Linked DNA regions of Homo sapiens: region 2 is linked to region 1. Evidence: promoter capture Hi-C in human tissues and cell types (Jung and others, 2019). All regions are on one chromosome and are shown on one strand. Each heading gives the region's core, a stretch centred on a gene start or on the middle of the fragment in contact. The rest is flanking DNA. Distances are from core to core; before and after follow the strand shown. Region 1 holds the start of LCMT2 (leucine carboxyl methyltransferase 2). Region 2 overlaps TTBK2 (tau tubulin kinase 2).

Region 1 (4,880 bases), core at 1,513-4,012:
AAGCGATCCTCCCACTTCAGCCTCCTAAGCAGCAGAGATCACAGGCATGCACCACAATGCCCATCTAATTTTATATAAAATTTTTTTTGTAGAGACGGGGTCTCACCATGTTGCCCAGGCTGGTCTCAAACTCCTGGGCTCAAGTGATCCACCAGCCTGAGCTGGGATTACAGGAGCGAGCCACTGCGCCCGGCCAGATTTTCAATTTTACTCCAGGATCCTGACCTTAATTTGTGCCCCATTCAAACCATCCTCCAGACTGACCTTTAACTAGCTGTGAGTAAATTTACTGACCCACTGGCTACAATGTTAACCTATGGAAATTAAAAAGCAACTAAGCAATCATAATCTTTACACATTAAAAAAAATTGTTGTTCCTTGCCTAAAACATGGATACCAACAACAGCATGCCATGACAAATTTAACTTTTCTGGACTGGTTTTGCTCTGGGACGGAAGGCAACAAACACTGGGATAAGATCCACGTTAGTAATACTTCATCAATATTAGAGCAGGGCCAGAAGCAAGTATCCTGTCTCCCAGGGAACTTTTTTCATGCTCCCACCTACTCCCCCAAAAGGGAACTCAGAATAAAAAAAAATTTGTTACTGTTTATTATGCACTTACCATGAGCCAGGCACTGTGGTGTCTTAGATAGTTATTTTGTTTAAATCCTCACAACAACCCCTGAGATATTATTATCCCCATTTTATATAAGAATAAACTGAGATTTAAACAATGGCCCCTCCTCCCCCGGCCTAAATCATAAGGCATCGAAATCAGAAATTTTACTCCATTCTCTTTCTTCTTTAATTACTTTTCTTGATCTGGTCTTTGCAAAACAAGTAGTATTTTTGACATAACACCTACATTTTAGGAACCTGTCATTAAATAAATTTGTTTCTATGGTGCTACGTATTTTTCAAAGTCCTTCAACTTTTTTTTTTTTTCTATTTGCCCCTCAATCAACCCTGAGATACCTCACGAAGCAGTACTTAATCTCATTTTAGAGGTGAGGATCCACTGACCCAGCAGGCATAGGTGAGCCCTTCTTCTAATCCCTTCAGAAGCAATTCTCAAACTGCTCAAATGTTCCATCAGATCTGAATGCCTTACACTAAACTGACAACTCTGTCACCAACTTTACAGAGAAAACAGAAGCCATCAGGTGCAAATTCCTTCTTTTTCTCTCTGCCCTACCTCACACCTGAGCTTATGATTATCCATAATCTTTTTTTTACCCCATCAGGAGTCACAGATAAAGGATTCATTCTCCTATCCCCACAACTAATACGTGCCCAGGATCCCATTTCTATCTATTCCAAGTTACTCTACCAGTGAGTTGTCTTCTCATTTTTCTGTTCCTTCAACCTCTCCCTCTCCACTAGCTGGTTTCCCTCACAGGACCAACACGCATGTGCAGTATTTGCTTCCACCTGAAAACAAAACAAAAGACTCTTTTATCCCACAATATTCTTTAGCCACTGCCCTGACCCTTTTTTCCTTCTGAGTTAAGCTCCTCGAAAGTATAATAATTTAGACTGGATACCTCCTTTAACTCACCTCCTATTCACTGAAACATGGATTCTGCCCTTATTGCTCCACAGAAACTGCTCTCCCTAAGGCCATTAATGAGCTTTTAAACACCAAATCTAAATGTCACTTTTCAATTACCGAATCTTTATCCTGATCCAAACCTTTTCTTTCTTATTTCATTTTGTTCCACAAGAAAACATTGGAAAATACGAAACTTTTTCTTGACTCCAGTATCCAAATCTGCTGGACTCCAAAACTCACACTCTTAACCATTATGCAGTACCACCTGTAGTTAACCATAAAGTTATCTGATTTCCTTTTCTATTTCAGCCAGTCAGTCACCAAATCCCAGTGAACAAATGATAAATTTCCTAAATGTCTCTGGAAGTGGTTTCCTATGGATGACTCCCAGACACCCAATTTAGAAACTTTATGATTATTCTGAAGTCTAACCTGGATTTACTCCTTAAAAACAAAGCTCAGAACATATCACAGGGAACAATCACCTCTCTTCAGTGACTCCCCTTTCTGGGGACATATTCAACACTACTTTAAAATCCACAGAATTCTCCAAGGCGGTGTGATGAGAAAGAGAGGCTGAGTGGTTTATTCACCGTCAGTCTAACATAGGGCTGGGAATACAAGGGAATCAACAGTCTACTATCTGTGGGGAAACGTCTTCTTGTTAGGTGTCTATAAATTATTTGTAAAGGTCGGTTTCTTCAGTTTGCACCCTGGCCTTAGTGACTTGTTTTCAAGTTTTAAATGGGGTTCTCTTTTGCAACTGTGAGAGCATTAAATAAATCAGCAACTATTAGCACCCAAGGAAGCTAACTAATCCTTGCCTACTGAAGGTCCGTGGTGCCGACCCTTCTTGGCTCCTACCAGACCCTTCCTTGGCGGTCCAAGGAAGCCAAGTCGTCAGTCCCCACAGACTCACCTCTTAGAGATTTCTCAACTACAAGGACTTAGGCAAGGTTTCCCTTTTGACTGGAAGGCTTGTAGAAACGTGACAACCCGCCTTCCCTAACACTCATGTCACAGCGGTAGCGGACCGTATTCTGGGACAAATGGAACTCACGACATTCCAAAGAAAGGTCAGCCGCAAGCGAACTTAGCACTGGCTACACCCTCCTCAATTCTGGTTGGCGAGATGCGCTCTTCCCGGAAGTGACGCACAAGTGCCGGCGGAAGGGGAAGTCCAGGAGCATGGGTGGTTTTTTTCCCCCTACCGAGGTCCGTGAGGTGTGTGCTAACCAAGGGGCGGCTCACAACCGTGACAGACTGCCATTCCTGAGTCTCTTCTGGCCATGGGCCCCCGGAGCCGTGAGCGTCGGGCAGGCGCGGTACAGAACACCAACGACAGCAGCGCCCTCAGCAAGCGTTCCCTGGCCGCGCGCGGGTACGTGCAGGACCCCTTTGCCGCGTTGCTGGTTCCGGGCGCGGCGCGCCGCGCACCGCTCATTCACCGAGGCTACTACGTCCGCGCACGCGCCGTGAGGCACTGCGTGCGCGCTTTTTTGGAGCAGATTGGCGCGCCCCAGGCCGCGCTTCGCGCGCAGATCTTGTCTCTCGGCGCTGGCTTCGACTCGCTCTATTTTCGCTTAAAAACCGCGGGCCGCCTGGCCCGGGCTGCAGTCTGGGAGGTGGATTTTCCGGACGTGGCGCGGCGCAAAGCAGAAAGGATTGGAGAGACGCCAGAGCTGTGCGCGTTAACCGGGCCTTTCGAGAGGGGGGAGCCCGCGTCCGCGCTGTGCTTTGAGAGCGCAGACTACTGCATCCTGGGTCTGGACTTGCGGCAGCTCCAGCGAGTGGAGGAGGCCCTGGGCGCCGCGGGGCTCGACGCAGCCTCACCCACTCTGCTCCTGGCCGAGGCGGTGCTGACCTACCTCGAGCCGGAGAGTGCCGCGGCCCTCATCGCCTGGGCAGCCCAGCGTTTTCCTAATGCCCTTTTCGTGGTCTATGAGCAGATGAGGCCTCAAGACGCCTTTGGCCAGTTCATGCTGCAACATTTTCGGCAGCTAAACTCCCCCCTGCATGGCCTGGAGCGTTTTCCTGACGTGGAGGCGCAGCGGCGCCGCTTCCTTCAAGCTGGCTGGACCGCCTGCGGTGCCGTGGACATGAATGAATTCTATCACTGCTTTCTTCCCGCAGAAGAACGCCGGCGGGTGGAAAATATTGAACCCTTTGACGAATTTGAGGAGTGGCATCTGAAGTGCGCCCATTATTTCATTCTGGCAGCTTCTAGGGGAGACACCCTCTCCCACACCCTAGTGTTTCCATCCTCAGAGGCATTTCCTCGCGTAAATCCTGCTTCGCCTTCAGGGGTATTCCCTGCCAGCGTAGTCAGTAGCGAGGGCCAGGTCCCAAACCTGAAGAGATATGGCCACGCCTCTGTCTTCTTGAGCCCAGACGTTATTCTCAGTGCAGGAGGATTTGGAGAGCAGGAGGGGCGGCACTGCCGAGTGAGCCAGTTTCACTTGCTCTCAAGAGATTGTGACTCTGAATGGAAAGGCAGCCAAATAGGCAGTTGTGGGACTGGAGTTCAGTGGGATGGACGCCTTTATCACACCATGACAAGACTCTCAGAGAGTCGGGTTCTGGTTCTGGGAGGGAGACTGTCCCCAGTAAGTCCAGCCTTGGGGGTTCTCCAGCTTCATTTTTTTAAGAGTGAGGATAATAACACTGAGGACCTGAAAGTGACAATAACAAAGGCTGGCCGAAAGGATGATTCCACTTTGTGTTGTTGGCGGCATTCAACAACAGAAGTGTCCTGTCAGAATCAGGAATATTTGTTTGTGTATGGGGGTCGAAGCGTGGTGGAACCTGTACTAAGTGACTGGCATTTCCTCCATGTAGGGACAATGGCTTGGGTCAGGATCCCAGTGGAGGGAGAAGTACCTGAAGCCCGGCATTCTCACAGTGCCTGCACTTGGCAAGGGGGAGCCCTTATTGCTGGAGGTCTCGGGGCTTCTGAGGAGCCATTGAACTCTGTGCTCTTTCTGAGACCAATCTCTTGTGGATTCCTCTGGGAGTCAGTAGACATCCAGCCTCCCATTACCCCAAGGTACTCCCACACAGCTCATGTGCTCAATGGAAAGCTGTTACTGGTTGGAGGGATCTGGATTCATTCCTCCTCATTTCCTGGAGTGACTGTGATCAATTTGACTACAGGATTGAGCTCTGAGTATCAGATTGACACAACATATGTGCCATGGCCATTAATGTTACACAACCATACTAGTATCCTTCTTCCTGAAGAGCAACAGCTCCTGCTCCTTGGAGGTGGTGGGAACTGCTTTTCCTTTGGTACCTACTTCAACCCCCATACAGTCACATTAGACC
Region 2 (4,880 bases), core at 1,643-4,142, 490 kb after region 1:
AGATGGTGGTGAAAAGGAAACACTTATACACTGCTGGTGGGAATATAAATTAGTTCAGCTACTGTGGAAAGCAGTCTAGAGATTTCTCAGAGGACTTAAAACAGAACTACCATTCAACCTAGCAATCCCATTACAGGGTATATACCCAAAGGAATAAAATCATTCTACCAGAAAGACACATGCACTTATGTGTTCATTGCAGCACTATTCACAATAGCAAACAAGTGGAATTAACCTTACATGCCCATCAATGGTGAACTGGATAAAGAAAATGTGGTACGTGTATACCATGAAATACTACACAGCTATAAAAATGAATGAAATCATGTTCTTTGCAGCAACATGGATGCAGCTGGAGGCCATTATCCTAAGCAAATTAATGCAGGAATAGAAAACCAAATACTGCATGTTCTTACTGATAAGTGGGAGCTAAACATTGAGTACACATGGATACAAAGAGGGGGACAATAGACACCAGGGCCTACTTTGAGGGTGGAGCAAAGAAGGAGGATGAGGGTCGAAAAACTACCTGTTGGATACTGTGCTCACTACCTGTGTGACAAAATCGTTTCCACACCAAACCCCAGCAACACACAATTTGCCCATGTGTCAAACCTGCACATATACCCCCGAACCTAAAATAAATATTGAAAAAGAAAAAAACCATAGCAAGTCTTGTCTACTTGAAACTTAAGCAGTAGTTGAGATAGAGGAGAAATGCCATTCCTTTTTCTTTTTCTTTTCATCAGTAACATAACTCTGTTCCCTGTATATTTTTTTTTTGAGATGGAGTCTTGGTCTGTCACCCAGGCTGGAGTGTAGTAGTGCAGTCTTGGCTCACTGAAACCTCCGTCTCCCAGGTTCAAGCGATTCTTCTGCCTCAGCCTCCCAAGTAGCTGGGAGTACAGCTGTGCTCCACCATGCCCGGCTAATTTCTGTATTTTTAGTAGAGATGGGATTTCATCATGTTGGCCAGGCTGGCGTTGAACTCCTGACCTCAGGTGGTCTGCCTGCCTTGGCTTCCCAAAGCGTTAGGATTACAGGTGTGAGCCACTGCCCCCAGCCTGTTCCCTGTTCTTTAGATGGTAGTGGAGTTAGGTCGAGGGAGCAGAGGAAAGAAATTCAGAAAAGGAATATTGGAATAATGGCTATAGTGGGGAGAAGAGGGAAACCTTTCTATTTTTTCTGACACTACCTCTGACCCTGAAAACACACACATACACACACACACACACACACACACACCCTGAATTATAGTCACCCTCAAAGTTTAAAAACCATGGTTCATCTTGATCTTGCTGCCTAGATCTAGAATTCTCAGTATTTCTTTTCATCTTAAGCAAACGTTGTTTTGGGCATTTGGTTTCTTTATTTTATTTTATTTTATTTTTTGAGACAGAGTCTCGCTCTATCACCCAGGCTGAGTGCAATGGCGCGATCTCGGCTCACTGCAACCTCCGCCTCCCGGGTTCAAGCGATTCTCCTGCCTCAGCTTCTGGAATAGCTGGGATTACAGGTAGTCGCCACCACGCCTCGCTACTTTTTGTATTTTTAGTAGAGACAGGGTTTCACCATGCTGGCCAGGCTGGCATTAAACTCCTAACCTCAGGCGATCCGCCTGCCTCAGCCTCCCAAAGTGCTGGGATTACAGGTGTGAGCCACCGCGCCCAGCAGGTTTCTTTATTTTCTTTCAAGTTATCTAAATAACAGTGATTCTAGAGACATAGATCCTGGCCTAAATGCTTCCTTTTCTCATCAGGAGGCTTTTCTTGTTTCCCTCAGCCATCCTTCAGATTTCATTTAGATTTAAAGATACTAACGTCTGTAGACTATAATCTTAAGGTCTTTCTGAGTCATGTGATTCACTAACTCTTGAGCCAGCCTAGTTTTATTTCCTTAAGCAGCTATCCCTGAACCTTTTTTTTTTTTTTTTTTTTTTTTGAGACAGAGTCTCACTCTGTCACCGGGCAGGAGTGCAGTGGCACAATCTCGGCTCACTGCAACTTCCACCTCCTGGGTTCAAGTGATTATTGTGCCTCAGTCTCTCAAGTAGTTGGGATTACAGGCACACGCCACCACACTTGGCTAATTTTTATGTTTTTAATTAGAGACTGGGTTTCACCATTTTGCCCAGGCTGGTCTCGAACTCCTGACCTCAAGTGATCCACCTACCTCGGCCTCCCAAAGTGCTGGGATTACAGGCGTAAGCCACCATGCCTGGCCTTTTTTTTTTTTTTTTTTGAGATGGAGTCTCGCTTTGTCACCCAGGCTGGAGTGCAGTGGCGTGATCTCAGCTCACTGCAACCTTCGCCTCCCAGGTTCAAGTGATTCTCCTGCCTCAGCCTCCGGTGTAGCTGGGACTGCAGGTGCGCGCCGCCACACCTGTCTAATTTTTGTATTTTTAGTAGGGACGGTTTCACCATGTTGGCCAGGCTGGTCTTGAACCCCTGACCTAAGGTGATCTGCCCACCTCGGTCTCCCAAAGCCCTGGGATTCTAGACGTAAGCCACCGCGCCCAGCCTCTGAACCTTTTTAGATCATTAATTTGGATCCTGCTTTCTCTCATTTTGGCTAGTAATAATATAACTTTTTGTGTGACATTTTATAGTTTTCATCTGGATTTATCATCTTATTTGATCCTCATTATACCCCCATGGGGAGGAGAGAACAAGTTTTATCCCTCTTTTGTACATGGAGAAGCTGAGTCTCAAGGAGGTTTGTGATTTGTCTGGTACTAGCCTACTTGATGGGTATTAAAGCTTGGTGGAAGCCTGAACCCAGTATTCTTTAGGCAGTAATAAGAGAAAACTGTTTTGTCTCAGGTTACTATTGACTGGAGAATTATATAAAGCAGCTTTTTTTCTTTAGTCTGCAGAGTCTTTCTGAGTCTTAGCATATATTCATTTTCATTCTTGTACTTACCTAAATCTGACTTTCTGTAAATGGGAAGGCTCCTGGTACTGGGAAACCTAAGAGACTGGTGTATATTAGGCAATGATGACCTTTGTGGCCTTTGGCAAGTTCCTATGGATTTGTCTAAGAACTTTTCCATTTGAATTGCATGCTATATTTTTTTCCTGTCACAAGAAAGTTAACCCATTTAAACTCCCATCTGTACAGTTTGTGGCTGACTTGATTTGGGATTAGGCTAAAGCTGGTATAACCGCTAGAGCATATTTTCTCTTATTTGACATATGGAAGATAACTACTGGGTCTCCTCCATGTATTCAGCTTCCCACAGAGAGTCCTAATTTATTCTAAAAACCATAAATTCATTATTCTTAAGATAAACTTGTTCTTTTCCTCCTGCTGATTCAATTACATAATATCTGCCTTAAAAATTTTTAAGGAACAACCTTATCTCTGTTGTAGAAATTCTATTTGCCATTAAAATGTTTTTTAAAATCTTACAGAGCTCAAGCAGTTGTACACATTTTTTTTTTCTGAATTCCCCTTACAAGACCTTAGCCAGGTCTCACCTAGTATTTTGTCACCACTGAAGCTTTATATGAGCATCTTTAGTATAACCAAAGTGTGATATATTGTGATAAGTACATCAACTACAGAGGTGCAAAACATTTTTTCAAGTGCTGTAACCAGTACAACTGTAGGTCTAGATTGCCTAACACCTACTACCTTTTAAAAGCTTTTTATTATGGGAAAAATTAAACATACACAAAGTAGAGAGAATAGTATAATTTACACCCATCTACTCATTACCCAACTTCAACAACTATCAGTATATGGCTAATCTTGTTTCAAGTATTTTCTCTTTCTCCTGTCCCTCCCGAAATTAATAGCTAATCCAAGGCATATTTTATCTATATATACATTTCTAGAAGACAAGAACTCTTTTTTTTCTTAAAGTAACCACAATACCTAATAATAATTCCTTAATAATAACACAAATATCAAACCAATCTTCAGTTTCAATGATCGTCCATCTCTTTAATAAATATTTTTTTTTTTACATTTGGTTTATTTGAATTGAGTTCCAAATAGGGTTCACACATTGCTTATCTCTTAAGCCTCTTTTAATCAATTGGTTCACCCTCTGTCTTTTATTTTCTTGCAATTTTCTTTTCATTGTGTTTATTGTTGTTGATAAAAATGGAGGAATTTGACATGCACACATTACCATATTCTGGATTTTGCTGGTTGTTTCCCTGTGGTTGTCTTTAATATGTATTTCTGTCCCCTGTATTTTCTATAAATTGATGATTATATAAGATTCCAGTTTTACTTTGCAAGGATACTTCAGAGGTGGGTTGTATGCTTCCTCTTGAATCACATCAGGAGGCAGTATCTGGTTGTCTGTCTTTCAGTGAGGTTAAGATTGGTCAGTGAGTTCAGCATTGTCAGTCTGATCCATCCATTTTAAAGTTACCAGTGGTTTTTCTCCTAATGGTTTTATCAACCCATTTGTAATCATCATCCATTATTTTAATGGGGGTTGCAAATACAGTGTTCTATCATTTTATTCTTCTTTTGTTTACTAGAATTCTTCTTCAAAACCACTACATTCACTATTAGGTTATCCTCAAGTATATTTTATATAGGAAAGGCAGGACTACTACTTGATTATTTTATTTATCAGTTTTTAGAATAATGAATTGGTTCCCTAATATAAACACATAATAAATATATAACTATATAATAAATCCATAAATTCATGGATTTAACATGTTTGATGTCTTTCAATTATTGCAGTTTTATTTTTTTGAGACGGAATCTCACTCTGTTGCCCAGTCTGGAGTGCAGTGGCACGATCTTGGCTCCCTGCAACCTCTACCTCCTGGGTTCTAGCGATTCTCCTGCCTCAACCTCCCAAGTAGCTAGGATTACAGGCTCATGCCACCATACCCAGCGAATTTTTTTAT

Evidence for each region. The method cuts DNA at HindIII sites, captures the fragments that hold promoters and counts their contacts. A contact is called where the count stands out against the background at its distance.
Region 2: a contact is called between a fragment that was not itself captured here and the fragment with the promoter of LCMT2 in region 1, in 2 of the 25 tissues and cell types used here (heart left ventricle and lymphoblastoid cells).

Annotation. Positions count from the first base shown.
Region 1 is chr15:43,328,455-43,333,334 of GRCh38, reverse strand. It overlaps LCMT2 (leucine carboxyl methyltransferase 2), which reads left to right and starts at 2,762. Exons shown (of 1, transcript NM_014793.5): 1 at 2,762-4,880. The coding sequence starts at 2,846. MAPDA (N6-Methyl-AMP deaminase) reads right to left here and starts at 2,663. Exons shown (of 13, transcript NM_001324366.2): 1 at 2,476-2,663; 2 at 1,335-1,435; 3 at 1-24. RefSeq lists enhancers at 2,622-2,671, 1,904-2,854. The HindIII fragment of the contact is 18,030 bases long and covers 1-4,880 here.
Region 2 is chr15:42,834,719-42,839,598 of GRCh38, reverse strand. All of the region lies in intron 4 of TTBK2 (tau tubulin kinase 2), which reads left to right. Among named protein-coding and RNA genes, the nearest start is that of TTBK2, 84 kb to the left of the region's middle. The HindIII fragment of the contact is 5,937 bases long and covers 1-4,880 here.